4 separate regions of the Homo sapiens genome follow, and regions 2, 3 and 4 are each linked to region 1. The links are contacts of gene promoters, found by promoter capture Hi-C in blood cells and fetal thymus (Javierre and others, 2016). All regions are on one chromosome and are shown on one strand. Each heading gives the region's core, a stretch centred on a gene start or on the middle of the fragment in contact. The rest is flanking DNA. Distances are from core to core; before and after follow the strand shown.

Region 1 (6,595 bases), core at 837-3,336:
TCTAGATATATGTATGTGTATATATGTGATGTATATATCAACCTTTAAAAAATTTAATTTTATTTTTTTGAGACTGAGTCTCGCTCTGTTGCCCAGACTGGAGTGCAATGGCATGATGTTGGCTCACTGCGATCTCCACCTCCCCAGGTTCAAGCGATTCTCCTCCCTCACCCTCCCAAGTAGCTGGAATTACAGGTGCCCGCCACCACACCTGGCTAATTTTTGTATTTTTAGTACAGACGGGGTTTCACCATGTTGGCCGGGCTGGTCTCAAACTCCTGACCTCAAATGATCCACCCGCTCCCCCCTTGGCCTCCCAAAGTGCTGGGATTACAGGCGTGAGCTACCGCGCCCAGCCAACCTTTTTTTAATTTTTAAAAAACTAAACTATGCCCAGCTAATTTTTGTTTTTGTAGAGACGGGGTATCACCATATTGCCCAGGCTAGTCTAGGATTCCTGGGTTCAAGCAATCCCCGCCGCCTCAGCCTCCCAAAGTGTTGAGATTACAGGTATGAGCCACTGCACCCGGCCAATCTGTGTGCTTGTGTATATCACACCATACCTATTCTCACACCTCACACACAAACATCATAAATGGTTGAACTCACAACCACACAGGTTCAAGAGTCATCCTGACAACCACAACCATTCTTCACACAATTTTGCCGATGTAAAACCTCCCTCTATAACCTCAGACACAGCCTTACACACACCACTCCACAGCCAGATTGACAACCACAGCAACAAACACGGCTCAACCACAGCCATCCAGCACTCGGGCTGTGTCCCAGACACACAGCAGCTCCCACACTCACACAGAGCCCCGGGTGCACAACCGCACAGCTGATAATCATAGGCACAGTCCCACACACTGATCCCTGACGCGGACCCCCTTTTCCATCCTGTCACCCGCTTGGAGGAGCATCCCACTTAAATGTCCACGTCTCCACTCCCATCTCCCACAAACTCTCCGTTGCACACCACTGCCAGCCACGGTATCAATGCAGATCACACACCCTCTAGTTCCTCTCTACACACACACACACACACACACACACGCACACACGGCTTCACACACCTCCACACCTCACTCATCCAACCCCAAGGTTCCACGCGCACCGTCCCATGAAACAGCTCCACTTCTGGACACAGTTCCGCCCAGCCCCATGCACCATCACAGTGACACACAATCAAAAGTCAATCATAGTCACCTATCACTGATCCAGTGCCACACTGTCCACCACACGCGCGCGCGCACACACACACACACACACACACACCAACAGGCAGAAAGACAACCACAGCCGCACAGCCTCTTGGTCAATCACACCTAATCCTACAACCAGTTCCACTCTCTGCCATGAAGACAGCCACACACACAGCCACACACATGCACATCAGGCCAAGCAGAAAGTCGACTACAGTCGCACTAGCTCTTGGTCGTAAAGTGCTACCAGCAATCCAATTCTACACACACACCATTCCAGTCAGAGGTCGCCCACGTTTTCACATTGCTAAAAGTGTCACATCATACACACAGTCCCATCACAGGGTTACACGGACAGTCGCTTTCACCCTCATACCCACAGCCTGACACACTCTCTTACACACACGCAAAGCCACACACACACACACACACACACACACAAACACAGGCAGGCAGGAGACTCCCATCGTGGCCCAGCCCCGCAAGCCGCACCAACTTACCCTGGCCTGCCCAGCCCCGCGCACCAGGCTCACCCGCAGTCACAAGGGCCCCCTCCCTCTCCCTCCCAGGCCCCGCCCCGTCCTCGCTGTTTACCTGCGCTGGGGTGGGGGGCATGGGACCCCAGCCAGGCCTCCAGATCCCGGAGAGCCCCAGGACGGGGCAGGGGGCATCCGGGAGCCCCAAGGCCCTTCCCCGTCTCAGGGCGAGCGGGCCCAGGGTTGCCCCCGCCCCCCATCATCGCGGCTCTCCGAGAGTCCCGCGCCCCACTCCCGGCACCCACCTGACCGCGGGCGGCTCCGGCCCCGCTTCGCCCCACTGCGATCAGTCGCGTCCCGCAGGCCAGGCACGCCCCGCCGCTCCCGCTGCGCCGGGCGTCTGGGACCTCGGGCGGCTCCTCCGAGGGGCGGGGCAGCCGGGAGCCACGCCCCCGCAGGTGAGCCGGCCACGCCCACCGCCCGTGGGAAGTTCAGCCTCGGGGCTCCAGCCCCGCGGGAATGGCAGAACTTCGCACGCGGAACTGGTAACCTCCAGGACACCTCGAATCAGGGTGATTGTAGCGCAGGGGCCTTGGCCAAGCTAAAACTTTGGAAACTTTAGATCCCAGACAGGTGGCTTTCTTGCAGTGCCTGCCCCAGAGCCTTTTCCTTGGTTGTGTGGCCTGCTTCGATCTCTCTTCCCACAGATCTCATCGTCTTTAGGTCTCTTCTCAAAGGCCACCTCCTCCGGCAGGCCTTCCCTGATTGCCCCCTTCTAAATGGCACCCTTCCACCAAAACATTACATACTCCTCTTGATTTTGTTCACAAAACTTTTCAGGGCCTAAAATTACCTTATTTATTTATTGAGAGGGAGTCTCGCTCCGTCACCCAGGCTGGAGTGCAGTAGCGCGATCTCGGCTCACTGCAACCTCCACCTCCCAAGTTCAAGCGATTCTCCCATCTCAGTCTCCCGAGTAGCTGCGACTACAAGTGTCTGCCACCACGCCCGGCTACTTTTTATATTTCTAGTAGAGACGGGGTTTCGCCATGTCGGCCAGGCTGGTCTCAAACTCCTGACCTCAAGTGATCCTCCCGCCTCGGCCTCCCAAAGTTCTGGGATTACAGGAGTGAGCCACCGCCCCCGGCCCCTAAAGTTATTTTATATAACATATATCACATCATTATGTTATGTTATATATTATGTTATTGGCAAGGGAATGTGATATCTAAGAATTGGGCTCAGGGTTCAAATTTGATTCCGGCACTTACTTGCTGTGCAGGCCTTGGGCAAGTAACTTAACCTCTCTGTGCCTCAGTTTCCCTAGTCAATAAAATATAAATAGTCTAAGGCTTTGAGAATTGAATGTTAACTAATACAGGGACAGTACTTTTTTTTTTTTTTTTTTTTTTTTGAGACACAGTCTCGCTGTGTTACCCAGGCTGGAGTACAATGGCGCTATCTTATCTTGGCTCACTGCAACTCCTGGGTTCAAGTCATTCTCCTGTCTCAGCCTCCCGAGTAGCTGGGATTACAGGCGCCCGCCACCATGCCCAGCTAATTTTTCCATTTTTAGTAGAGACGGGGTTTCCCCATGTTAGCCAGGCTGATCTCGAACTCCTGACCTTAGGTGATCTGCCCACCTCGACCTCCCAAAGTGCTGGAATTACAGGCGTGAGCCACCGCGCCTGGCCAGGACAGTACTTTTATCAGGGCCTCGCAAATAGAAAGTACTTAGTAAATACTCGCTACTGACTGTATATTATGGGTTCACTTTTTCTCCTCTACTATATAAGCTCTGAGGGCAGGGCTGTATATTGTCAGCACTGTTATCTTCAGCAAGAGCTTGATGCAAAGTCGGTGCTCAATAAATTGTGACTGAATGAAGGAATCAAGTCCTAGAATAGTAAGCTGGCCAAAGCTGGGAGGACACGATTCTAATATAACTTGAGGACGGCGCAGTGGCTCACACCTGTAATCCCAGCACTTTGGGAGGCCGAGGGGGCTGGATCACTTGAGGTCAGGAGTTCGAGACCAGCCTGGCCAACATGGTGAAACCCTATCTCTACTAAAAATACAAAATTAGCCGGGTGTGGTAGCGCACGCCTGTAATCCCAGCTACTTGGGAGGCTGAGGCAGGCGAATCGCTTGAACCCCAGAGGCAGAGGTTGCAGTGAGCCGAGATCACACCATTACACTCCTGCCTGGGCAACAAGAGCGAAACTCCATCTCAAAAATAAATAAATGCATACATACATACATGGCTCAATGCGCGCGGTACCCCGGTCACTACACTATGAAATGCTTCCAGCAGAGGGCGCTGCTGGTCCGTGGACCAAACTCCAGACTCGGCACAGCTCCGCGCTCCCTCCGAATTGCAGCCAACGTGCCCTCTACTTCCCTGTTGTCTGAGCCCCAGTGCTGATGCTTCCTCCTCCAGGAAGCCCTTTCTTATTTCCCAGGTTTCCAGGCTCTTGGGCTCCCACATCCAGCCCTGCCAACTCTGGGTCATCAGTGTGGGGAGACAGGTCAGTCCCATATTAGACTATGAGCCCCAAGAAGGGAGGAGGCGGCCAGGGGCCATGTCAGTCTCCACTGTGTCCCCAGTGCCACCTAGCACAGGCCCAACGCAGAGAAGGCATTTGGGAGAATAGGTGCTGATTGAATCATGGAAATAAAAATTCAAACTCATATCCTAACTACTCCAGCATTTTTTTTTTTTTAAGACAGTCTTGCTCTGTTGCCCAGGCTGGAGTGCAGTGGCACGATCTTGGCTCATTGTGTAACCTCCGCTTCCCAGGTTCAAGCGATTCTCCCGCCCCAGCCTCCCAAGCAGCTGGGATTACAGGCACCCACCATCATGCCTTGCTAATTTTTATATTTTTGTAGAAATGGAGTTTCCCATGTTGGCCAGGCTGGTCTTGAACTCTTGACCTCAGGTGATCCACCCACTTCGGCCTCCCAGAGTGCTGGGATTATAGGCGTCAGCCACCATGCCCGGCCTACTCTAGCTTTTTTAAAAGACAGGTGTCACTCTGTCACCCAGGCTGGAGTGCAGTGGCAGTCGTAACTCACTGCAGCCTTGATTTCCCGGGTTTAAGCAATGCTCCCTCCTCAGCCTCCCAAGTCCCAGGTAGCTGGGACTACAAATGCACCACCATACCCAGCTACTTTTTGTTGTTTTTTGTAAAGATGGGGGTCTCCCTATATTGCCCAGGCTGGTTTTGAACTCCTGACCTCAAGCGATCCTCCTGCCTTGGCCTCCCAAAGTCCTGGGATTACAGGCATGAGCCACTGTGCCAAGCTCCAGCTATTTCTTTCTTTCTTCCTTTTTTTAATTAAGACAGCATCTCACTGGGAGTGGTGGCTCATGCCTATAATCCCAGCACTTTGGGAGGCCTAGGAGGGCGGATCACCTGAGATCAGGAGGGCGGATCACCTGAGATCAGGAGGGCGAGACCAGCCTGACCAATATGATGAAACCGTGTCTCTACTAAAATTACAAAAATTAGCCGGGCTTGGTGGCATGGGCCTGTAATTCCAGCTTGTCAGGAGGCTAAGACAGGAGAATCACTTGAACCAGGGAGGCGGAGGTTGCAGTGAGCCAAGATGGCGTCATTGCACTCCAGCCTGGGCAACAAGAGCAAAACTCCATCCCCTAAAAAAAAAAAAAAAAAGACAGTGTCTCTGTTGCCCAGGCTGGAGTGCAATGGCATGATCTCGGCTCACTGAAACCTCCATCTCCCGGGTTCAAATGATTCTCCTGCCTCAGCCTCCAGAGTAGCTGGGATTACAGGTGTGCACCATCACGCCCAGGTAATTTTTATATTTTTAGTATAGACAGGGTTTCGCCATGTTGGCCAGGCTGGTCTCGAACTCCTGACCTCAGGTGATCTACCCGCCTCGGCCTTCCAAAGTGCTAGCTCCAGCTATTTCAACAGCACAGGATCGAGGGGCAGCAGAGCCTTCCCCCTGCCCCCCATTTTTTTGGCCTCACGACGCTGGACATTGGATCTGGATCTGCTACACGCTTACCACAGGCAGTGCAGGGACTGGAGCCAGGCCAGCAGGGACAAATCTCAGCTGGGTCATTTGCTAGCTGTGTGACCCTCTGAGCCAAGAAGTAACCTCTCTGGACCTCAGATTTCTAGTCTGTCAAACGAGACTCACAGGGTACCCTACTTTAAGGCTGTGGTGAGGATTACTGTATAATCCCCCAGAAAAGGCTTAGAACAGGGTAGCACCCGGTAAATACTATGTGTGTTGGGGGAGGGCAGGGGATGGAGCCGGGCGGGGAGCCAGGCAGATCTAGGTTTAAATCCTGGCCCTGCCATTTCTGTTCCATGTAAACCGGGGGAACAATGATCTCTGGCTGAGCCTCTGTCTCCTCGTCTAGTAAAATGGGGATGATCACACTCATCACACAGCATTGAGGTGAGACTTAAATGAGATAAAGATTGAAAGAAGAAGAAAGTGTTAACTAAGGAAAACCTTTCTTGCTTTTGTTGCTGCTGTTGTTGTTTTTGTTTTTTTGAGACGGAGTCATGCTCTTTCTCCCCGGCTGGAGTGCAGTGGCACAATCTCGGCTCACTACAACTTCCGCCTCCCAGGTTCATACAATTCTCCTGCCTCAGCCTCCGGAGTAGCTGGGACTATAGGCACGTACCGCCATGCCCAGCTAATTTTTGTATTTTTAGTAGAGACGGGGTTTCACCGTGTTAGCCAGAATGGTCTTGATCTCCTGACCTCGTGATCTGCCTGCCTCGGCCTCCCAAAGTGCTGGGATTACAGGCGTGAGCCACCACACCTGGCCAGGAAAACCTTCCTTTAGGCCAGCGGTGTTCCAAGTACTTTTGCACAACGCCAACAATGGCTGATGTTTGAGTTCTTACCCCAGACTGGCCCTGTGCC
Region 2 (6,826 bases), core at 475-2,974, 370 kb after region 1:
GGCTGCAGGGGCTGACTCTTGACTCAGACTGGGAAACCTGCCATCCAGCCCCCTGGGATCCCCCGAGAGGAGACTAAGAATCTGGAACCCCTTCAGTGTGCAGATGGATGAATTAAAAGAAAAAAGAAATAAAGAAAAAATAATAAACATAAAATTTTTAAAAGAAAGAATCTGGAATCCTAGCGCTTCAAAAGCACAGAACCGGGGATGGTTAATGGCTACAAAAAATAGAATGAACGAGGACGGGCGCGGCGGCTCATGCCTGTAATCCCAGCACTTTGGGAGGCCAAGGCGGGCGGATCACGAGGTCAGGAGATTGAGACCATCCTGGCTAACATGGTGAAACCCTGTCTCTACTAAAAAATACAAAAAAATTAGCTGGGCATGGTGGCGGGCGCCTGTAGTCCCAGCTACTCCGGAGGCTGAGGCAGGAGAATGGTGTGAACCCAGGAGGCAGAGGTTGCAGTGAGCCAAGATCGCGCCACTGCACTCCAGCCTGGGCAACAGAGCGAGACTCCATCTCAAAAAAAAAAAGAATGAATGAGATCTAGTATTTGGTAGCAAAACACGGCAACTCTAGTCAATAGTAATTTAATTACACATTTTAAAATAACTTAAGAAGTATAGAGGCCAGGCACAGTGGCTCATGCCTGTAACTTTGGGAGGCTGAAGTGGGCAAATCACGAGGTCAAGAAATCGAGATCATCGTGGCCAACATGGTGAAACCCTGTCTCTACTAAAAATACAAAAATTAACTGGGCCTGGTGGTGCGTGCCTCTAGTCCCATCTACTTGGGAGGCTGAGGCAGGAGAATCACTTGAACCCGGGAGGCGTAGGTTGCAGTGAGCCGAGATTGCGCCACTGCCCTCCAGCCTTGCAACAGAGTGAGACTCCATCTCAAAAAAAAAAAAAAAAAAAAAAGTATAATTGGGTCAGGTGTAGCAGCTCATGCTTGTAATCCCAGCACTTTGGGAAGCTGAGGCAGGCGGATTGCTTGAGCTCAAAAGTTTGAGACCAGCCTGGGCAACATGATGAAATCCCGTCTCTACAAAAAATATAAAAATTAGCTGGGCATGGTGGCCCATGCCTGTAGTCCCAGCTACTTGGGGGACTGAGGTGAGAGAGTCACTTGAGCCCTGACGGTCAAGGCTGCAGTGAGACGTGATTGCGCCACTGCACTCCAGCCTGGGAGATAGAGAGCTTGTCCCAAAAAAATTAATCAATTAATTAATTAAATTTTTTAAAAAAGAAAAGGAAAAGAACCGAAGGCACAGAAGCTTAGAAAGAGCAACATTTCTGAACTTTTGGAGAATTTTTGGAGAAGCAGATAGTAAGTGATACGTTAGTTCCAATTTTAGTAACAGTGGGCTTAATTATTCAGACCAACCCTCTCACTGGAAAAAATTGGAAAAGCTTGATAAAATTAATACACTAAGAAAATATCAATATATTTTATATTTGTAATTATACATATTGATAGAATGAGAATATATGCTGCTCACGTATTCTCGTATTTGTTCTCATGCATGTAATTTTTATCAAGTTTACATATGAATATATATAAATAGACAGCTCTGAAGAATGGACACGACTGTAGGTTACCAAACCTTCAGGCAAAAACTGAAGGGAAAGTGGGAATCCTAAAGTAGTAAAGGATCGGCCGGGCGCGGTGGCTCAAGCCTGTAATCCCAGCACTTTGGGAGGCCGAGGTGGGTGGATCACCTGAGGTCAGGAGTTCAAGACCAGCCTGGCCAACATGGTGAAACCCCATCTCTACTAAAAATACAAAAATTAGCCAGGAGTGGTGGTGCATGCCTGTAATCCCAGCTATTCGGGAAGCTGGGGCAGGAGAATCGCTTGAACCCAGGAGAAGGAGGTTGCAGTGAACCGAGATCGTGCCATGGCACTCCAGCCTGGGCAACAAGAGCAAAAAGTCCATCTCAAGGAAAAAAAAAAAAAGAAGTAAAGGATCTTGGATTTGCAGGTCTAGGGGAAAAAAAAAAAAAGAATAAGTAAAGGAGCCCTATAAGCTTCTTCATGTGTCCGAGGACATCTGCTAGGTGTTTTGGTGGGTGACAAAAATGCTGGCCTAGGCTGGGCGCGGTGGCTCACACCTGTAACCCCAGCACGCTGGGAGGCTGAGGTAGGTGGATTGCTTGAGCCCAGGAGTTTGAGACCAGCCTGGGCAACACACAGTTTCTACAAAAAATACAAAAATTAGCCAGGCATGGCAGCACGCACCATGCCTATATTCCCAGCTACTCAGGAGGCTGAGGTGGGAGAATCACCTGAGCCCAGGAGGTCGAGGCTGCAGTGAACCACGATCATGCCACTGCACTCCAGCCTGGGCAACAGAGTGAGACCCTGTCTCAAAAAAAAAAAAAAAAATGCTAGCCCAGGGCACATACAACATATGAGGTAACCAGAGACCTACCCTATAGGAAACTAAGACCCCACAAGGTGCAAGCCTCCACCCCTGAGAAGGAAGGAACCAGGTGGCCTACCCATTCCCAGGAGTTGCACAACAGGTATGCAGGGCGAAGTATGCAAGGCCACTCGTGGGATAAGGAGTCACGAAGGGCAGCTCAAGCCCTGAACCTGGTGCAAGGAAACCTAGGACTTGGTAATGCCCCCAGGCAGAAGCAAAGGCAATCCTCTCTGTAGGAAAATATGCTCATCCTAGCCCTGAAATTCCTACAAATAACTTTTCAAGTATAATGACTAGGACACAGACAGAGATAAGCCAGGCACAAAAGGAAACGACATTATGAGCGAGAATCAGCAGCAACAACAGATACCAAAACCAAAACGAGGCTGGGCGTGGTGGCTTACACCTATAATCCCAGCACTTTGGGAAGCCAACACTTGAGGTCAGGAGTTCGAGACCAACCTGGCCAACATGGTGAAACCCCATCTCTACTAAAAATACAAAAATTAGCCGGGCGTGGTGGCGGGCGCCTGTAATCCCAGCTACTTGGTAGGCGGAGGCAAAAGAATCGCTTGAACCTGGGAGGTGGAGGTCGCAGTGAGCCGAGATCATGCCACTGGACTCCAGTCTGGGTGACAGAGTAAGACTCCATCTCAAAAAAAAAAAAAAAAAAGTGTCCTTAAAGAGAAGAAATATTCCTTCTTGATTTATTCTTCTCTCCTGTTGCCTGGAGTGTGGATGTGATGGCTGAATCTTCAGCAGCTGTCTTGGGCTATGAGGATAAAGGGAAAAACCTAGCAATGGCACAACAAACAGCAAGGAGTCTGGGTCACTGAAGACTGCAGAATCCTAGTCTGCCTCCATCCAGACTGGTATATCAGAGAGAAATGAACCTGTACTGTGTTAATGGAGGTTTCTCAGCTGCATGCAGCCATGTGATTAAATGATTCAAGTACTTATTAATTATAGGTATGATAACCATACAGCAGAAGAGGTTATGAGCCCAGCCTCTAAACTACAGTATCTTCATCTGAAGCCCAGCTCTGCTACTTACTGTGACCTCAGTGGTCAACTTCAATGGTTGAAATGGGGATAATAACAGTGCCTACTCTCATAGGGTAGTTTATAAGCATTAAACACATTAAATTATATATATGTTTATATAGCGTGTATATACATCTGACACACGCACACGTACCTCAGAATGGAGCCTGGTGCATACCCAGTAAGTGACTGAGAAGTGTTAGCTATTACTGTTATTTTAATCATAGGAAAAAGGCATACAAAAAACTTTGGAGCAGAAAAACACTATGAGTAAATTCTAGTGTGGGTGGGGTGCCTCCCTGCTGAGCCCTGATCAGGGGCAGGATCAGGCACAGGAACTTGCCTCTGCCTGTAGAAGCCACAAGGCCCTGGGGTCCAGGGTCTTAGGGGCCACGGTCCAGCTGAGCCATCGCTACCTCCCCATGAAGTCCCTGATATGCACGTCTGGGGAAGGTCTGGACCTGGCAATCTCTGGGGATACCGATGCCTCCAGCAGAGGCTCTCATTTTAGTAAACACACCAGGGGAGAGTGTAGAAGCAGTGATGCCCCCAGGCAGCTCTGCCCCTGGCTTAGTGTGTGGCTGTGGGGGTCCTAACCCCTCTGGGCTTCTAGATCCCCATGTATAAAACAAGGCCAGGCCTTTTTGGATTCCAGATCCCCAGTCCCCTGAAGAACGTCCTGTGTGTATCCACACGCCCACAGTTCTGTGGACCCTCTCAGAGGGCTCATGGCCATGGCCCCTCATCCATGCACCCAGGCCTGCAGGAGACTGGACCTTTCTAATGCTTCCTGATGTACTTGAGTAAGCAAAGAAAACAGACATTAAATCCTTTCTCCCACCCAAATAGGTATTCTACAGTCACAGGTTCAGAACATTTTTAAATATATGAAAAGACGTATAATCAAAACTCTCCCTCCCACCCCATTCCTTTATATACCCAGTTCCTGCTCCACCTCCCACTCCAGGTAACCACATGTGCTCAAAAACACAGACGCCACCCGCTATCTAGAAAGGCTATTCCCACATAATCAGCTTCAAGCTACAAGGAGTTCATGGGCCCCTGAAAACAAACCCTGGATCCCATTTTAAGAACTGCAGCCAAGATGGTCTCCGAGCACCCACCCGAACTGATGTTTGATGCTGCCTAGTTCTAAGAAAGGAAATTAGCCTACAGTGTGACTTGTATTAAAAATGTCTCTCTGAAGGAAGCTCCCTATGCACTGACGTGGAAAGATTTCAAAGATATATTGTTAATGAAAAAAATCAAGGAGCAGAACAGTGTGTAAAACAGGCTACCTCTTATGTAAAAATGAAGGGAAAGATAAAAATAATTTTCATGCAGAGCTGCTTGCAGCATGAAAAAAAAGAAGGTGATATATAAGAAAATCTGAAGTCTTTACGTGGCCATGGGGAGGGGAGGTGAAGTGGAGACGGTAAGGGACAGGGGCGCATGACTGAGAAGCGTAGGGCACATGGCAGGAATTTTTGAGGCACACATGTCAGTTTTGCAACTTAACAGAGTGGGGAGGTTTCTTTCCTGCAGTTTCTCAGTGTCCTGTGTGACACTCTTGGAGGACACCAGGCAGGCAGTTCTGCTCTAGTCTAGAATGTGATCAGTGACTACATCAGGGATCATGAGTTGTTTTTTTTTTTTTTTGGGACAGAGTTTCACTCTTGTTGCCCAGGCTGGAGTAAAATGGCATGATCTCGGCTCACTGCAACCTCCGCCTCCCGGGTTCAAGCGATTCTCCTGCCTCAGCCTCCTGAATAGCTGGGATTACAGGCATAAGCCGCCATGCCCGGCTAATTTTGTATTTTTTGCAGAGATGGGTTTCTCCATGTTGGTCAGGCTGGTCTGGAACTCCCGACCTCAGGTGATTCACCTACCTTGGTCTCCCAAAGTGCTGGGATTACAGGCGTGAGCCACTGCACCCGGCCTCATGAACTTTTTTTTTTCACTGTTTCACTATATATTTCCTAAGGTTTTTGTTTGTTTGAGATACAGTCTCACTCTGTTGCCTAGGCTGGAGTGCAGTAGTATCATCACGGCCCATTGCAGCCTTGACCTCCTGGGCTCAAGCGATCCTCCCTCTTCGGCCTCCCTAATAGCTGGCACTACAGGTGTGCGCCATCACACCCAGCTAATTTTTTAGTTTTTTACAGAGATGGGGTCAGGATAGGCGCGGTGGCTCACGCCTGTAATCCCAGCACTTTGGGAGCCCGAGGTGCGTGGATAGCGAGGTCAGGAGATCGAGACTATCCTGGCTAACACGATGAAACCCTGTCTCTACTAAAAATACAAAAAATTAGCCGGGCGCTGTGGCGGGCGCCTGTAGTCCCAGCTACTCGGGAGGCTGAGGCAGGAGAATGGCGTGAACCTAGGAGGCGGAGCTTGCAGTGAGCCGAGATCGCGCCACTGCACTCCAGCCTGGGCGACGGAGCGAGATTCTGTCTCCCAAAAAAAAGAGAGAGAGAGAGAGAGATGGGGGTCTTACTGTGTTGCTCAGGCTTTTTTTTTTTCCACGTTGAACAACAAAAGGAATCATGGCCAACATTGTCTGTGTGCGTGCCAGCTCCTGCACCCCTCAGTTGACATGAATTCTCTTGGAATCCTTCTGATGCACCCTGAGCTAATTGTCAAGATTCCCTGTCTGTGAGGTGGAAAATGAGGCTCAAGAAGGGTGATAACCTGACCAGGCCACAGAGCTCAGAGGTGGCAGGGCTGAGATGTCAGCAGGGCTGTGCTCTTACACGCTATCTGACACTACCTGCCCCCCGCCTCCTAACTTTTCTCTATTTTAAACAACTCTATCTGTGAGCATCTATATATAATCCCATTTAGGGCCAATTACAAAAATGTGTGCCTATGGGATGGCCACCAACACATTACACTTTTTTATTTTTGAGACTGTGTCTCGCTCTGTCACCCAGGCTGGAGTGCAGTGGCGGCATCTTGGCACACTGCAAGCTCCGCCTCCTAGGTTCACGCCATCCTCCTGCCTCAGCCTCCCGAGTAGCTGGGACTATAGGCGCCTGCCACCATGCCCGGCTAATTTTTTATATTTTTAGTAGAGATGCAGTTTCACTGTGTTAGCCAGGATGGTCTCGATCTCCTAACCTCGTGATCCACCCACCTCGGCCTCCCAAAGTGCTGGGATTACAGGCGTGAGCCACCGCGCCCGGCCCACATTACACTTTTTCATTAGCTTTTTCTTTTCACTCTTCGTATTGTTTGAACTACTTAATTTTGTAAAATAAACACTCATAATTTATAAGCTAAGGGAAACCAGTAATAAGATTTTATGGAAGAGATAAGTAGCTGCCCCCCATAACCACTCTCCTCTTCTTCCTC
Region 3 (6,517 bases), core at 3,715-6,214, 300 kb after region 1:
TTGGGAGGCTAAGGCAGGAGAATTGCTTGAACCCGGGAGGCGGAGGTTGCACTGAGCCGAGATCGTGCCACTGCACTCCAGCCTGGGCGACAGAGCCAGACTCCATCTCAAAAAAAAAAAAGGTAGCTATTCATTCCTGAGTGCTGTGTTCCTAGGCCACTTCTGGGGCCTCAACTATGACCAACAGAGACCCAGGCCTTGCCTTGATGATCACATCTTTCTGACACTATCGGAGATGAGTTCTCCCTTTAGCCCCGTGGTTCCTTCCTGGGTGGCAGAGGTAAGCAAGGAGCTCTCAGAGCTTCCTCTTCTCTGCTGAGTGGAAGTAAGAGCGGTCTCTGTCTCACAGGTGACTGTGGGGATTCAAAAAAAATCCTGCATCTCTCACATGGCCTGGGGGTGCCTGCGAAGGATCAATTAAATGGTTAATTACTATTGTTAATATTGTTTTATTCATCTATTCTTTCAAACCATATTTGATGGACCCAACCCTAGGGTACAAACGTGACCCAAATATAATTAGTCCCCAGTCTCACAGAGCTGGGTATGTGCATATACGTATGAATGGAAAAAATTTTTTTTTTTTTTTTTTTTTTTGGGACGGAGTCTCGCTCTGTCGCCCAGGCTGGAGTGCAGTGGCACTATCTCGGCTCACTGCAAGCTCTGTCTCCCGGGTTCATGCCATTCTCCTGCCTCAGCCTCCCGAGTAGCTGGGAGTACAGGTGCCCACCACCACGCCCAGCTAATTTTTTGTATTTGTAGTAGAGACGGGACACACACACACACACACACACACACACACACACACACACAAAGTATTCCTTATCTGAAGTGCTTGGGATCAGAGGTGCTTCAGATTTTTTCAGATTTTGGAATATTTGTCTATTCATAATGAGATATCTTAGGGATGGCACCCAAGTCCAAAGACCAAATTCATTTATACTTTATAAGCACAGCCTGAAGGTAATTGTATACAATATTTTAAATAATTTTGTGCATGAAACAAAGTTTGTGTAAAGTACTTATATGTGAAACTTTCCACTTATAGTGGGGCATCATGTCAGTATGCAGAAAGTTTCAGATTTTGGAGCTAGCCGGGCGTGGTGGCTCACGCCTGTAATCCCAGCACTTTGGGAGGCCGAGGCAAGCAAATCACTTGAGGTCGGGAGTTCAAGACTAGCCTGACCAACATGGTGAAACCCTGTCTCTACCAAAAGTGCAAAAATTAGCCAGGCATAGTGGCACATGCCTGTAATTCCAGCTACTCAGGAGGTTGAGTGAGGCAGGAGAATAGCTTGAACCTGGGGGGTGGACGTTACAGTGAGCTGACATCATGCCACTGCACTCCAGCCTGGGCGACTAAGCAAGACTCTGCCTCAAAAAAAAAAAAAGATTTTGGAGCATTTCGGATTTTGAATTAGGGATGTTCAACCTGTGTATGCGTATGTGTGTGCGTGTGTGTATACATACATACACACACATATATATATATATATAAATTTTTTTTTTGAGATGGAGTCTCACTCTGTTGCCCAGGCTGGAGAGCAATGCAACCTATGCCTCCCGGGTTCAAGCAATTCTCCTGCCTCAGCCTCCCGAGTAGCTGGGATTACCATTTACTCCTGTATTACTGCCCCAGCCTCTTCCCTGGTCTGCTGGCCTCCAGTCCTGGCTCCTCCAGTCTGTCCTCCCTAGAAGAGTCCAGGAGGCCTTTCTAAAGCACAAAACTGACCCTGTCCCTTCATTGCTCAGAGCACCTCTATGGCTCCTAAGTGCCCTTGAGAGAAAGCCCAGGCTCCTCACCACCTCCAGCTAATTTCTGTATTTTTAGTAGAGACGAGGTTTCATCATGTTAGCCAGGCTGGTCTCAAACTCTTGACCTGAGGTGATCCACCTGCCTTGGCCCCCAAAATGCTGGGATTACAGGCGTGAGCCACCACACCAGGCCCATGTATGTGTATCTTAAGTGTGTTAAATTCCACAAAGGGGAAGGAAAGGGAGCTATGATTATGGCATTTTTAGAGGACACCTGACTGAGCTTGGGAAACAAGACTTCTCTGAGGACTGAGATCTGACAGATAAGCAGTAGTTAACCAGGTATGGGAAGAGCTCATACAAAGGTCCTGTGGCTGGGGAGCGCTTGGGTCAGTGGAGGAATAGCAAGGAGGCCAAAATGACTTGTGCAAAGGAACAAGGCAGAGTGTGGGGTGGTGTGAGTCTGGAGGAAGGGCAAAGGCCAGGCCATGCAGGACCCTAAAGGCCACAGTGAGGAGCCTGGGCTTTCTCTCAAGGGCACTTAGGAGGCATAGAGGTGCTCTGAGCAACGAAGGGACAGGGTCAGTTTTGTGCTTTAGAAAGGCCTCTTGGACTCTTCTAGGAAGGACAGACTGGAGGAGCCAGGACTGGAGGCCAGCAGACCAGGGAGGAGGCTGGGGCAGTAATACAGGAATAACTGGGAAAGGTCTATATAAATGTCATCTGACAGGAACACTGAACCTAGAAAACAGGTGCCATTTCAAGCTGGGATCCCAAGGATACACAGGAGTTAAATAGGTGAGGGGGGGTAATATAGGCCAAAGCCCTGTGGTGGCAGAAATAGAAGGCCAGTGGAGCTGTCCGAGTATGAAGCTGAGTGGTCAGACCACAAGGGTCTTTTAGGCCAGGGATAGTTTGGTCTTCCCCGCAAAAACAACTGAAGCATCAGACAGGAGAGGGAAGTGGTCAGGTTTCACTTAATATTCACTCCTTTTTTTTTGAGACAGTCTTTTTTTTTTTTTTTTTGAGACAGAGTCTCGCTGTCGCCCAGGCTGGAGTGCAATGGTGCTATCTCAGCTCACTGCAGGCTCCGCTCTGCCCCCCTCCCCGGTTCACACCATTCTCCTGCCTCAGCCTCCCGAGTAGCTGGGACTACAGGCACCCGCCACCTCACCTGGCTAATTTTTTGTATTTTAATAGAGATGGGGTTTCACCGTGTTAGCCAGGACGGTCTCGATCTCTTGACCTTGTGATCTGTCCACCTCGGCCTCCCAAAGTGCTGGGATTACAGGCGTTGAGTCTTGCTCTGTCACCCAGGCTGGAGTTCAGTGGCACAATCTCCATGCACTACAGCCTCCTCCTCCCGGGCTCAAGCAATTCTCGTGCGTCAGCCTCCCAAGTAGCTGGGACTACATGCACACACCACTAAGCCTGGCTAATTTTTGTATCTTTAGTAGAGATGGGGTTTCACCCTTTTGGCCAGGCTGGTCTCGAACTCGTGACCTCAGGTGATCCACTTGGGATTACAGGCGTGAGCCACTGTGCCAGGCCAACTTAATACTCACTCCTATTGTGTGCCAAGCCAAATCTCAAGAGTGGCTGAGCTCTTCTGGGAATGGGGAACACAGCAATAAGCGAAACAGACATTCTGGAGGTGGCCAGTCTAACGTCAGGACTGCTCTGAGGGTTACAGAGACTTCCCTTTTTCTTGCTAACACCGGATCGGCACTGGGAGGCCACACCAAACGACACAGTATGCTACAACAAACAGAAGCCCTTGGGATCCCACCAATGATTATCCTCAAGAAAAGATTAATGAATATACTCCTGAGGAAATGAGCCTCTTGTCTTGACATACTTCCAAGCCCAGATTTTACCAGGATGACCAGCTGTGCCCCCCAACCCAGGGTCCCTCACCCCAGACAAAAGGCCAGTTACTCACGATCTTTTCATAATACTCCCGTCTCCGCTCCGCCCTCTTCTTGTAGTCGACCATCATGCCTCGAAGCTTCCGCTCATGCTTCCGAGCCTCGTGCCACATTGTGGTGAGGCCAAGCCTGGGGCCTCAACCTGAGGGATGAAGGGACCAGGAAAGTCAGATGGTCTGTGAAACCCGTATGGGCAGAATCAAAGTCATCTAACAAGTTGGTGGCAGAGTCGATCCCAAACAACACATCTCTTAGCTTCAGGGAGCAGAAGTGAAGCTGCAGAACAGTATGCCAGATGTTCAAGTCCATCCCTAACAACTTCGATCTAGAAGCTTGGGCATTCTGAAAAACCCTCAGGTGATTCTGAGGTGAGCATCACTGGGAAAGGGGTGTCCTAGATTCCACGCGCTGGAGTCGGGAATGAAAGGTTTTGAAACATCAGCAGTGTTTGAAGTAGGGTCAGAAGGCAAACCCTGAGCACTTAAGGCTGGAGCTCAAGAGAAAGAGAAGAACTGAAAAGGCTCCCACTAGGGGCCATGCGTGGGGTTGGGTATGAGTCTGGGTGGTAGAGGGATAAGGAGAATAAGGATGAAGGCAGGTGGAGGAAATCGGAGAAAGCTTTTAAGGGAACAGTGCAGTTGTATGAAGGTGGAGGTCGAGGACAGGTGAAGGGCGTGGCGGAAGATGAAGATGCTAGAGGGAGTGGGAACACGGGGAGGGAGTGTTGCAAGGAGACCAGAGTGAAGCTGAGGTCTAAAGATGGGATCTAGATGGCGGGGTGGGGAGAGCATCCAAAGAAAAAGAGCGTAGAGCCTGAGAGAGGCGGAGCTGGCTGACAGGAGGGCGTGGGCTGAGCTTGGGGGCAGGGCTTGCGGGAAAGGGCGGAGACCGAAGGTTTGGACGGGGCTTGTGGATCGCGTCGCGGCCTGAGGATTTGGGCTGGGTTTTTTTTTTGTTGTTTTTTTTTTTGACAAGGGGGCGGGGCCTGTGATAAGCTGCTGGGCCGAAGGCCGAGTTCGACGCGGCAACTTCTGGCCCACAGCCGGGGCACGGGCTCGGCCTGAGGCCCGTCAGGCCTAATGGGGTGAGGGACGAGCGATCCTCGGGGCCGGGACGCAGCAGAAGCCCACAGCAGCATGGGGAGAGCCTGAGGAAAGGGAGAAGCTGGGCTGAGGCCTGCCCGAAAACCGGGAGGTCGAGCCGCAGCCTGCACTCACCGGCTGGTCGCCGCCTCCCACCGCTGCGCTCGCGCGCGGCCCGCACCGGAAGCGGAAATGAAAGGCCGCGCTAGGGGGAGGGGGCGGAGCATGGTGGAGGGCCGCGCAGCGCACTTCCGCCGACGAGAGAGGCGGGTCCTAGAGTCGAGAGGGGCGGGATCCCGAGGAAGAAGTGGGAGAGCGGAGAAGGGAAGAGCTTGGATGCTTTATCTTTTTATCTTTTTTATTTTATTTATTTATTTAATTTTATTTTTTTGAGACGGAGTCTCTCTTTGTCTCCCAGGCTAGAAGGCAGTGGCGCGATCTAGGCTCACTGCAACCTTTGCCTCCTGGGTTTCAGCTATTCTCCCACCTCAGCCTCCCGAGTAGCTGGGACTACAAGCGCGCGCCACCAAGCCCGGCTAATTTTTGTATTTTTAGTAGAGATGGGGTTTCACCATTTTGGTTAGGCTGGTCTCAAACTCCTGACCTCAGGTGATCCACCTGCCTCGGCCTCCCAAAGTGCTGGGATTACAGCCATGAGCCACCATGCCCGGTCTCATTTTTTATTTTCATTTTCATTTTTTATTTTTTTGAGACACAGCCTCGCGCTGTCGCCCAAGCTGGAGTGCAGTGGTGCGGTCTTGGCTCACTGCAACGTCCACCTCCTGGGCTCAAGCGATCCTCCCACCTCAGCCTCTAGAGTAGCTGGGATTACAGGCGCGCAGCACCACGCCCGGCTAATTTTTGTATTTTTTGTAGAGACTAGGTTTCGTCATGTTGCCCAGGCTGGTCTCAAACTCGTGAGCTCAAGCGATCCTCCTGCTTTGGCCTCCCAAAGTGCTGGGATGACAGGCCTGAGCCCCCAGCCTGGAGGCTTTCTTTGCTACTAAGGGACTAGGGCGTTTCCCAAGCCCAGAACAGACGAAACCCCGGAGGCTCAAAAACTCATCTTTATTGGGAAGACTCTGAACAACCAACCTACCCCCCACCTTCAAGTCTGGGGAGGGAGGGCCAGGAATCTGCCCCCTCCTCCCATATGTACAATCTTTTCCGAATCCTACTGGAGAAGGTGCCCCCACATGTGGGGACAGAGGCAGCTGTAACAAGCTAGTGCACGGGAGCCATGTCCCTTTTCCTCTCCGGACTCAGTTTCCTCATCTGTAAAATGGGCTCAAGGGGAAACCCGTGCAACGGAGCTTCTCGCCAAGGCTGAATATGTCCACTTCAGAAGCATGAGGAAGGGCCAAGGGGATGGGGGTGCTAGACATCCTGGTTGGGATTGCACGGCTCCTCCACCTCCCTCCCCACCCAGTGCCCCTCCTCTGGCATCGCGGGGCTACGTGGCTTCAGGCCCCGGGGATAGGAGGCCGCCCCCAAAGGCCGCCTCGCGGTAATGATTGGGGAACATGTTGCTGCCCACAAGGCTGGCGGTGCCTCCATCCCCGGGGCCCGGGGCCTGGTACGAGTCCAGTGTCAGTGGTTCAGGGCCGGGGGTCTCCCCAACCACGGCCCCGGCACCTCCGCTGCACACAACAGCGCTAGCGTGTGGCGGTGCCGGGGGCAGCAGGTCCAGCATGGTGAAGAGTGTGGGGGCCGTAGGGTCGTAGGCAAAGCCATCGTCCAGGAGGTCAGGCC
Region 4 (6,708 bases), core at 1,693-4,192, 340 kb after region 1:
CTAAAAATACAAAAAATTAGCTGAGCGTGGTGGCACATGACTGTAATCCCAGCTACTTGGGAGGCTGAGGCAGGAGAATTGCTCGAACCTGAGAGGTGGAGGTTGCAGTGAGCCGAGATCGCGCCATTGTACTCCAGCCTGGGCAACAGGAATGAAACTCCGTCTCAAAAAAAAAAGAACCACTGTCTGGCCAGGCGAGGTGGCTCACACCTGTAATCCCAGCACTTTGGGAGGCTGAGGCGGGCGGATTACCTGAGGTCAGGAGTTCAAGACCAGCCTGGCCAACATGGTGAAACCCCATCTCTACTAAAGACACAAAGTGGGTTGTGGTGGCGGGTGCCTGTAATCCCAGCTACTCAGGAGGCTGAGGCAGGAGAATTGCTGAACCCGGGAGGTGGAGATTGCAGTGAGTCAAAATCGCATCAATGTACTCCAGCCTGGGTGACACAGCGAGACTCTGTCTCAAAAAAAAAAAAAAAAAAAAAAAAAACACAAAAAACAGACAAAAAAAACCCACACACACACCAAAAATGAACCACTGTTATAGACTGTCTAGTAATAATAATTATTATCGTTATTATTATTATACCACTAACAGTTAACACTTACTGAACCCTTACTGTGTGCCAGATACTGCTTGGAAAGTGTACCTGTATCAATTCATTGAATACTCTCAATTTCCCTGAAAGAGAGGCACTGTTATTCTGTCCATCTTACAGATGAGGAAAACTGAGGCCTGAACTGGGGAACTGACTTGCAGACATTCACACAGGGAGGGGCGATGACAGCAGTATGTAAACCCCAGCTCCAAAGCCCAGGATGGCAGTGATTACCTTCTACTAAGCCACAGTGAATCTCTAAAGAAGCCTTTGCGCATGGATAGGTGGTAAGATTTACCTGTCACGCTTTTTTTTTTTTTTTTTTTTTTTTTGAGTCGGAGTCTCGCTCTGTCTCCCAGGCTGGAGTGCAGTGGTGCGATCTCGGCTCACTGCAAGCTCCGCCTCCCAGGTTCACGCCATTCTCCTGCCTCAGCCTCCCGAGTAGCTGGGACTACAGGAGCCCGCCACCACGCCCGGCTAATTTTGTTTTTGTATTTTCAGTAGAGACGGGGTTTCACCGTGTTAGCCAGGATGGTCTCGATCTCCTGACCTCGTGATCCGTCCGCCTCGGCCTCCCAAAGTGCTGGGACTACAGGCGTGAGCCACCGCGCCCGGCCACCTGTCACGCTCTTAACAGTCCAAGAGGTAAGAAAACCTAGGGGGCCCATCTCAACTGGCAGGGAGGGATGCACCCTGTCAGGAGAAAGCTGAGGTGGACCTCGTGAACCCCCAAACAGAGACATCTCTGTGGAGTCCTCCCAACCTCATCCTGCATGAGCGAGTGGGCAGGAACTGTGGAGGGCTGCTCACCTGTGCTCCTGGAAACGGCGAGCGAGAGTGAGGAGAGGTCGGGGGACCCTGCAGAGAAGGAGAAACGTCTCAGGAGGTGATGGGGGGCAGCCAGAGGACCAGAGAATATCCCAAGGAAGCCCCACCCCTTCCTCTTCTAGCCCTTCCCCTCTGGATCAGGCCCCTCGCCCTGACTGCCCCCCTGCGTCTGGCCAGGCTTACCAGCTAAATCATGGACAGGTCCTGGCCTTTAGTTTCTGTGGTTCGCCCCACCCTTCATCACACTCAGGGCCCGCTCCTTTTCTCCCTTAAAGTTGGGCCTGGAGGGGACCCCATCTCAATCTCAGTTTAAAAAGTCCCCATCCCGCTGGGCACAAGGGCTCACACCTGTAATCCCAGCACTTTGAGAGGCCGAGGCGTGCGGATCACCTGAGGTCAGAAGTTCGAGGCCAGTCTGACCAGCATGGTGAAACCCCGTCTCTAGTAAAACTACAAAAATTAGCCGGGTGTGGTGGCGGGCACCTGTAATTCCAGCTACTCGGGGGGCTGAGGCAGGAGAACTGCTTGAGCCCGGGAGGCAGAGGTTGCAGTGAGCCTAGATCGTGCCACTGCACTCCAGCCTGGGCGACAGAGCGAGACTCCATCTCAAAAGAAAAAAACAAAAAACAAACAAAAAAAAACATCCTCCTGTCAGGGTCAGACCACTTTTAATTTTTTCAATGTCAAGGCTCCGCTTCTCCGTCTGGAGGCAAGCCCCACCCCCTCCTCATTCTCTGTGTCGGGCCCCGCCCTGCTTTTTTGGGTAACAGGCCCTTCCCCTCCACTCGGCCAGAGTCAGGCCCCGCCCCTTCCCCTTCTTTCGGCCAACTCAGGCCCCGCCCCCTTCCTGCCCTCACGGCCAGGCCCCGCCCCCTCACCCCTCAGCGTAGGGCCCTGCTTCCTTTTTTGAGTCAGGCCCGGCCCTCTTCTCATAGTCCGGGTCGGATCCCGCCCCTCTTCTCCCTCTCTGGGCCCGGCCCCGCCCCGATACCGCCCAAGAGCAGCTTTCGCTCCGCCTTCTCTGAGTCAGGCCACGCCCCCTTCTTTGCCTCAGGGTCAGGCCCCGCCCCCTCTCACTCTACAGCGGGACGCCTCGCTCGAACCTCGGGCCGTACCCCCTCATCACCCTCTGCCTTCTTCCTACGCCCTAATACAGTGTCTCAGGAACCCTCACTCTGCCCCCGCGAAACCCTTAGACTCCCATAGGAACCCCCAGACTACTCCGGGACCGCCAGAATCCCCGCATCTCCAGCCCCGCCCCAGACCCCTCTCCTGAACCCCAGCCCCGCTTACCTAAGGCCCCCAGCTCCGGCGCAGCCGGCGGTCTGGCGACGCGGCGACTCGGCATGGCCCGGCCAGTGGGGACGGACGGCCCAGAGGCTGGCCCAGACCGAAGCATGCACGCGGGCCGGCCGGGCGGCCGGGAGGCACGGTCTGGTGGACGATCGCGGGTCGGACGAGCGGCGCAAGGGCTGGGGCCGCAGGCCGGGCAGGACGCGCGGCGCCCGGGGCTGCGCGGGGCGCGGGGCCGGGCCGGGCGGGCGGCGGGCGGGGGCGGGGCGGCGGAATTCCCCGGCGCCGCCGGCCTGCGCGCCCATTGGTCTGCACCCCGCCGTGACGTCACGCCTGGGGAACGGGAAAACCCCCACGCGTCACGTGATCGCGGGGGCGGGGCCGGCCGGGAAAGGGAGGCTGGGCGCTCAGGAGGGGTTGGGCAGGCGTCGCTGCCCATTGCTCTGGACGAGACAACTGAGGCCTGCTTAGAGCCATCACGCCTTACCCATTGAGCAAGCCGGCAAACTGAGCCGCTCCCCGCTTTGGTCTCCCAGTGGGACTTGAACCTGCCGTTTCTCAGGCTGGAAGGGGAGCTTCAGGATCGAGAGGTTGGCAGGGCTCTACACCTGCCATCCATAATAATATTTCGGAAACCTCCAAGGTCTCGCTACACCTCAGTTTCCTCAACCGTAAATTGAGGATGAAGATATTTAAGGAACGTTTAAAGCTAGCGTGTCAGCTTCAGAATTTATGTTTTGTGCGTTGTTGTAACCCCAACGCCTAGACCAGCGCCTGGAACACCGTAGGTGCCCAATAAATGTTTATTGGAGGCCGGGCGCGGTGGTTCATGCCTGTAATCTCAGCACTTTGGGAGGCCGAGGCAGGCACATCACGAGGTCAGGATTTCGAGACCAGCCTGACCGACATGGTGAAATCCCATCTCTACTAAAAATACAAAAATTAGCTGGGCGTGTTGGTGTGCGCCTGTAATGCCAGCTACTCCGGAGGCTGAGGCAGGAGAATAGCTTGAACCTGGGAGGCGGAGGTTGCAGTGAGCTGAGATCGTGCCACTGCACTCCAGCCTGGGCAACAGAGCGAGACTCCCATCTCAAAAAAAAAAAAGTTTATTGGATGAATGCATGGATGTTTTATTTATTGGTTTGTTCCTCCCTGCAGCCCCTGAAAGTTACCCATAAATAGCCCAGACCACTTTGAGCTCAAAAGCTCAGTTATTCAGTCTGCGAATGGCAGCAGTGTAGCCTCCGTATACATCCTGAGCTGTGTGCCTAAACCCTGAGCTCATCCCTATCACCAGCGCCAGAAGCATATGATAGGATTATTGCAGAAGGGACTCAGGCTGAAAGAGGGGCAGCCATTTGGCTAGATCACATTCCTAAGCCTCTCATATTCCTGAGAACGACTAGGTGATCTATTAGGTTCTAAGTTGGATGCCAGGCGCTCTCAGACCACAGATGCAGGGTTTGTTGTCTTTCCTTTGCTTGTATAAAATTTGGGTGTTCTGGCTAGGCACGGTGGCTCACACCTGTAACCCCAATACTTTGGGAGGCCGAGGCAGGAGGATTGCTTGAGCCTGGGAGGTTGAGGCTGCAGTGAGCTGTGATGACGCTATTGCACTCCAGCCTGGGTGACAGAGTGAGACCTTGTCTCAAAAAGAAAAAGAAATAACTCTGTAAGTTGAATGTTCACAACAATTGTGTGAAGTATATGGTGTTATTGATCCCCACATAGCAGATGAGAAAACTGAAACCCGGCAAAATTAATTTCTCCAAGGTCACACAAATTAATAGACACAAATATTTAAAACACAAAATTCTTAGAACAGGGCCTGGCACATGTGGGTGCTATATACAAATGTGAACTTTTTTTTTTTTTTTGAGGCAGGGTGTCACTCTGTCACCGAGGTTGGAGTGCAGTGGCAGGAACATGGTTCACCACAGCCTCAACCTCCTGGACTAAGGGGATCCTCTCACCTCAGCCTCCAGAGTAGCTGGGACTACAGGCACACACCACCGCATCCGGCTAATGTTTTCTTTTCTTTTCTTTCTTTTTTTTTTTGAGAGATGGAGTCTCGCTCTGTCACCCAGGCTGCAGTGCAGTGGTGCGATCTCAGCTCACTGCAATCTCTGCCTCCCGGGTTCAAGCGATTCTCCTGCCTCAGCTTCCCAAGTAGCTGGGACTACAGGCATGAGCCACTGCGCCCAGCCTGTTTTCTATTTTTGTAGAGAGAGGATCTGTTGCTTAGGCTGAGCCAGTGCACCTGGCCAAAGGGCAACTAACTATTAACATCATTTTATTTAATACTCATGACCGTCCTATTATTAGACCCACTTTACAGACGGGAAACTGAAGCTCAGAGAGATGAAGTCAGTTGCCTGAGGCCACACAGCTGGTGAGCTGGGACCACAGGTGTGCGCCACCATGCCTGGCCTAATTTTTGTGTTTTTAGCAGAGATGAGGTTTCACCATGTTGCCCAAGCTGGTCTCAAACTCCTGGATTCAAGCGAGCTGCCTACCTCAGCCTCCCAAAGTGCTGGGACTACATTTCTTTCTTTCTTTTTTTTTTTTTTTTTTTAGTAGAGATGGGGTTTCACCATGTTGTCCAGGCTGGTCTTGAACTCCTGACCTCAGGTGATCCGCCTGTCTTGGCCTCCCAAAGTGCTGGGATTACAGTCGTGAGCCACTGTGCCCAGCCCTATTTCTTTCTTTTTTTTTTTTTGTTGAGATGGAGTCTTCCTCTGCCACCCAGGCTGGAGTGCAGTGGCGCGATCTCGGCTCACTGCAAGCTCCTACTCCCGGGTTCACGCCATTCTGCTCCTCAGCCTCCCGAGTAGCTGGGACTACAGGCGCCCGCCACCATGCCTGGCTAATTTTTTGTAGTTTTAGTAGAGACAGGGTTTCACCGTGTTAGCCAGGATGGTCTCAATCTCCTGACCTCGTGATCCGCCTGCCTTGGCCTCCCAAAGTGCTGGGATTACAGGCGTGAGCCACCACACCCGGTCTTCTTTCTTTTATTTAAGACATGGGATTTTGCTGTTGCCCAGGCTGATCTTGACCTCCTAGCCTCAAGTGATCCTTCTGCCCGAACCTCCCAAAGCGCTGGGATTACAGGCGTGAGCCACTGTGCCTGGCTCTTCAATTTACAGTTATTACACACAGCGTAACAGTGTCAGGCACTGCTCTAAAAGCTAGGGACATAGCAAGGCACACAGCAGACAAAAAGCCCTTGCCATCAAGGAAATCCAAGTGAGGAGACAGATGGAAAACAGATAAGCAAATATTATGTCTGATGGTGATGGCAGTATTACAGGATAGAGCAGGATAACGAGAAGGAGTTCGGAAGATAGTTTGGGTTAGGAAGATCAGGGTCTGAGAGGTGCCATTTGAACAGGGAGTCAAAGGAGGTGAGGGATTCATGTGGATATCTGGGGGAGAGTGTTCAAAGCACAGGGGCTAGCACGTGCAAAGGCCCTGTGGTAGGAACATGCATGGCATGCTTAAGGAATAGCAAGAAGGCTGGTGCAGAGTGACTGACAGGAAAGGGGTAGAGATGAGGGCAGAGTGATGGACCAGTAAGGTGACGAGGACACTGAATAATATTAAATGTAATGGATGAAGCCAACCACATGCAGCACTTACACTAGTGCTTGGCTTATGATAAGGATGACAAATAGCAGCTCCAATTGTTATAGGACCAGAAGCTCTCCTGATTCCTCTCTGCCTCTTGCCAATGCCAGGCCTCAAAAATGTTTGTTGAGGCTGGGTGCAGTGGCTCATGCCTGTAATCCCAGCACTTTGGGAGGCCAAGGCAGGCGGATCACCTGAGGTCAGGAGTTCAAGACCAGCCTGGCCAACGTGGTGAAACCCCGTCTCTACTAAAAATACAAAACTAACTGGGTGTGGTGGCATGTGCCTGTAGTCCCAGCTACTAGGGAGGCTGAGGCAGGACGATCACTTGAACCCAGGAAGTGGAGGCTGCAGTGAGCTG

Evidence for each region. Contacts are between HindIII fragments. The CHiCAGO score rates a contact against its expected background, and 5 or more counts as called.
Region 2: a fragment that was not itself captured here is called in contact with the fragment with the promoter of KLC3 in region 1 in 1 of 17 cell types (M1 macrophages); the score reaches 5.0 in M1 macrophages.
Region 3: the fragment with the promoter of CLASRP here is called in contact with the fragment with the promoter of KLC3 in region 1 in 1 of 17 cell types (M0 macrophages); the score reaches 5.6 in M0 macrophages.
Region 4: a contact is called between the fragment with the promoter of RELB here and the fragment with the promoter of KLC3 in region 1, in 1 of 17 cell types (M2 macrophages). The highest score is 5.0, in M2 macrophages.

The regions. Positions count from the first base shown.
Region 1 is chr19:45,336,241-45,342,835 of GRCh38, reverse strand. KLC3 (kinesin light chain 3) reads right to left here and starts at 2,086. Exons shown (of 13, transcript NM_177417.3): 1 at 1,990-2,086. RefSeq lists a silencer at 2,101-2,190. The HindIII fragment of the contact is 17,587 bases long and covers 1-6,595 here.
Region 2 is chr19:44,965,963-44,972,788 of GRCh38, reverse strand. All of the region lies in intron 2 of CLPTM1 (CLPTM1 regulator of GABA type A receptor forward trafficking), which reads right to left. Among named protein-coding and RNA genes, the nearest start is that of CLPTM1, 14 kb to the right of the region's middle. The HindIII fragment of the contact is 617 bases long and covers 1,416-2,032 here.
Region 3 is chr19:45,037,492-45,044,008 of GRCh38, reverse strand. It overlaps CLASRP (CLK4 associating serine/arginine rich protein), which reads right to left and starts at 4,964. Exons shown (of 21, transcript NM_007056.3): 1 at 4,901-4,964; 2 at 3,698-3,825. The coding sequence starts at 3,796. RELB (RELB proto-oncogene, NF-kB subunit) reads right to left here. Exons shown (of 12, transcript NM_006509.4): 12 at 5,817-6,517. The coding sequence ends at 6,219. RefSeq lists an enhancer at 4,421-5,290. The HindIII fragment of the contact is 10,693 bases long and covers 4,304-6,517 here.
Region 4 is chr19:44,997,698-45,004,405 of GRCh38, reverse strand. It overlaps RELB (RELB proto-oncogene, NF-kB subunit), which reads right to left and starts at 2,942. Exons shown (of 12, transcript NM_006509.4): 1 at 2,721-2,942; 2 at 1,410-1,457. The coding sequence starts at 2,826. RefSeq lists silencers at 2,109-2,388, 2,709-3,118. The HindIII fragment of the contact is 31,053 bases long and covers 1-6,708 here.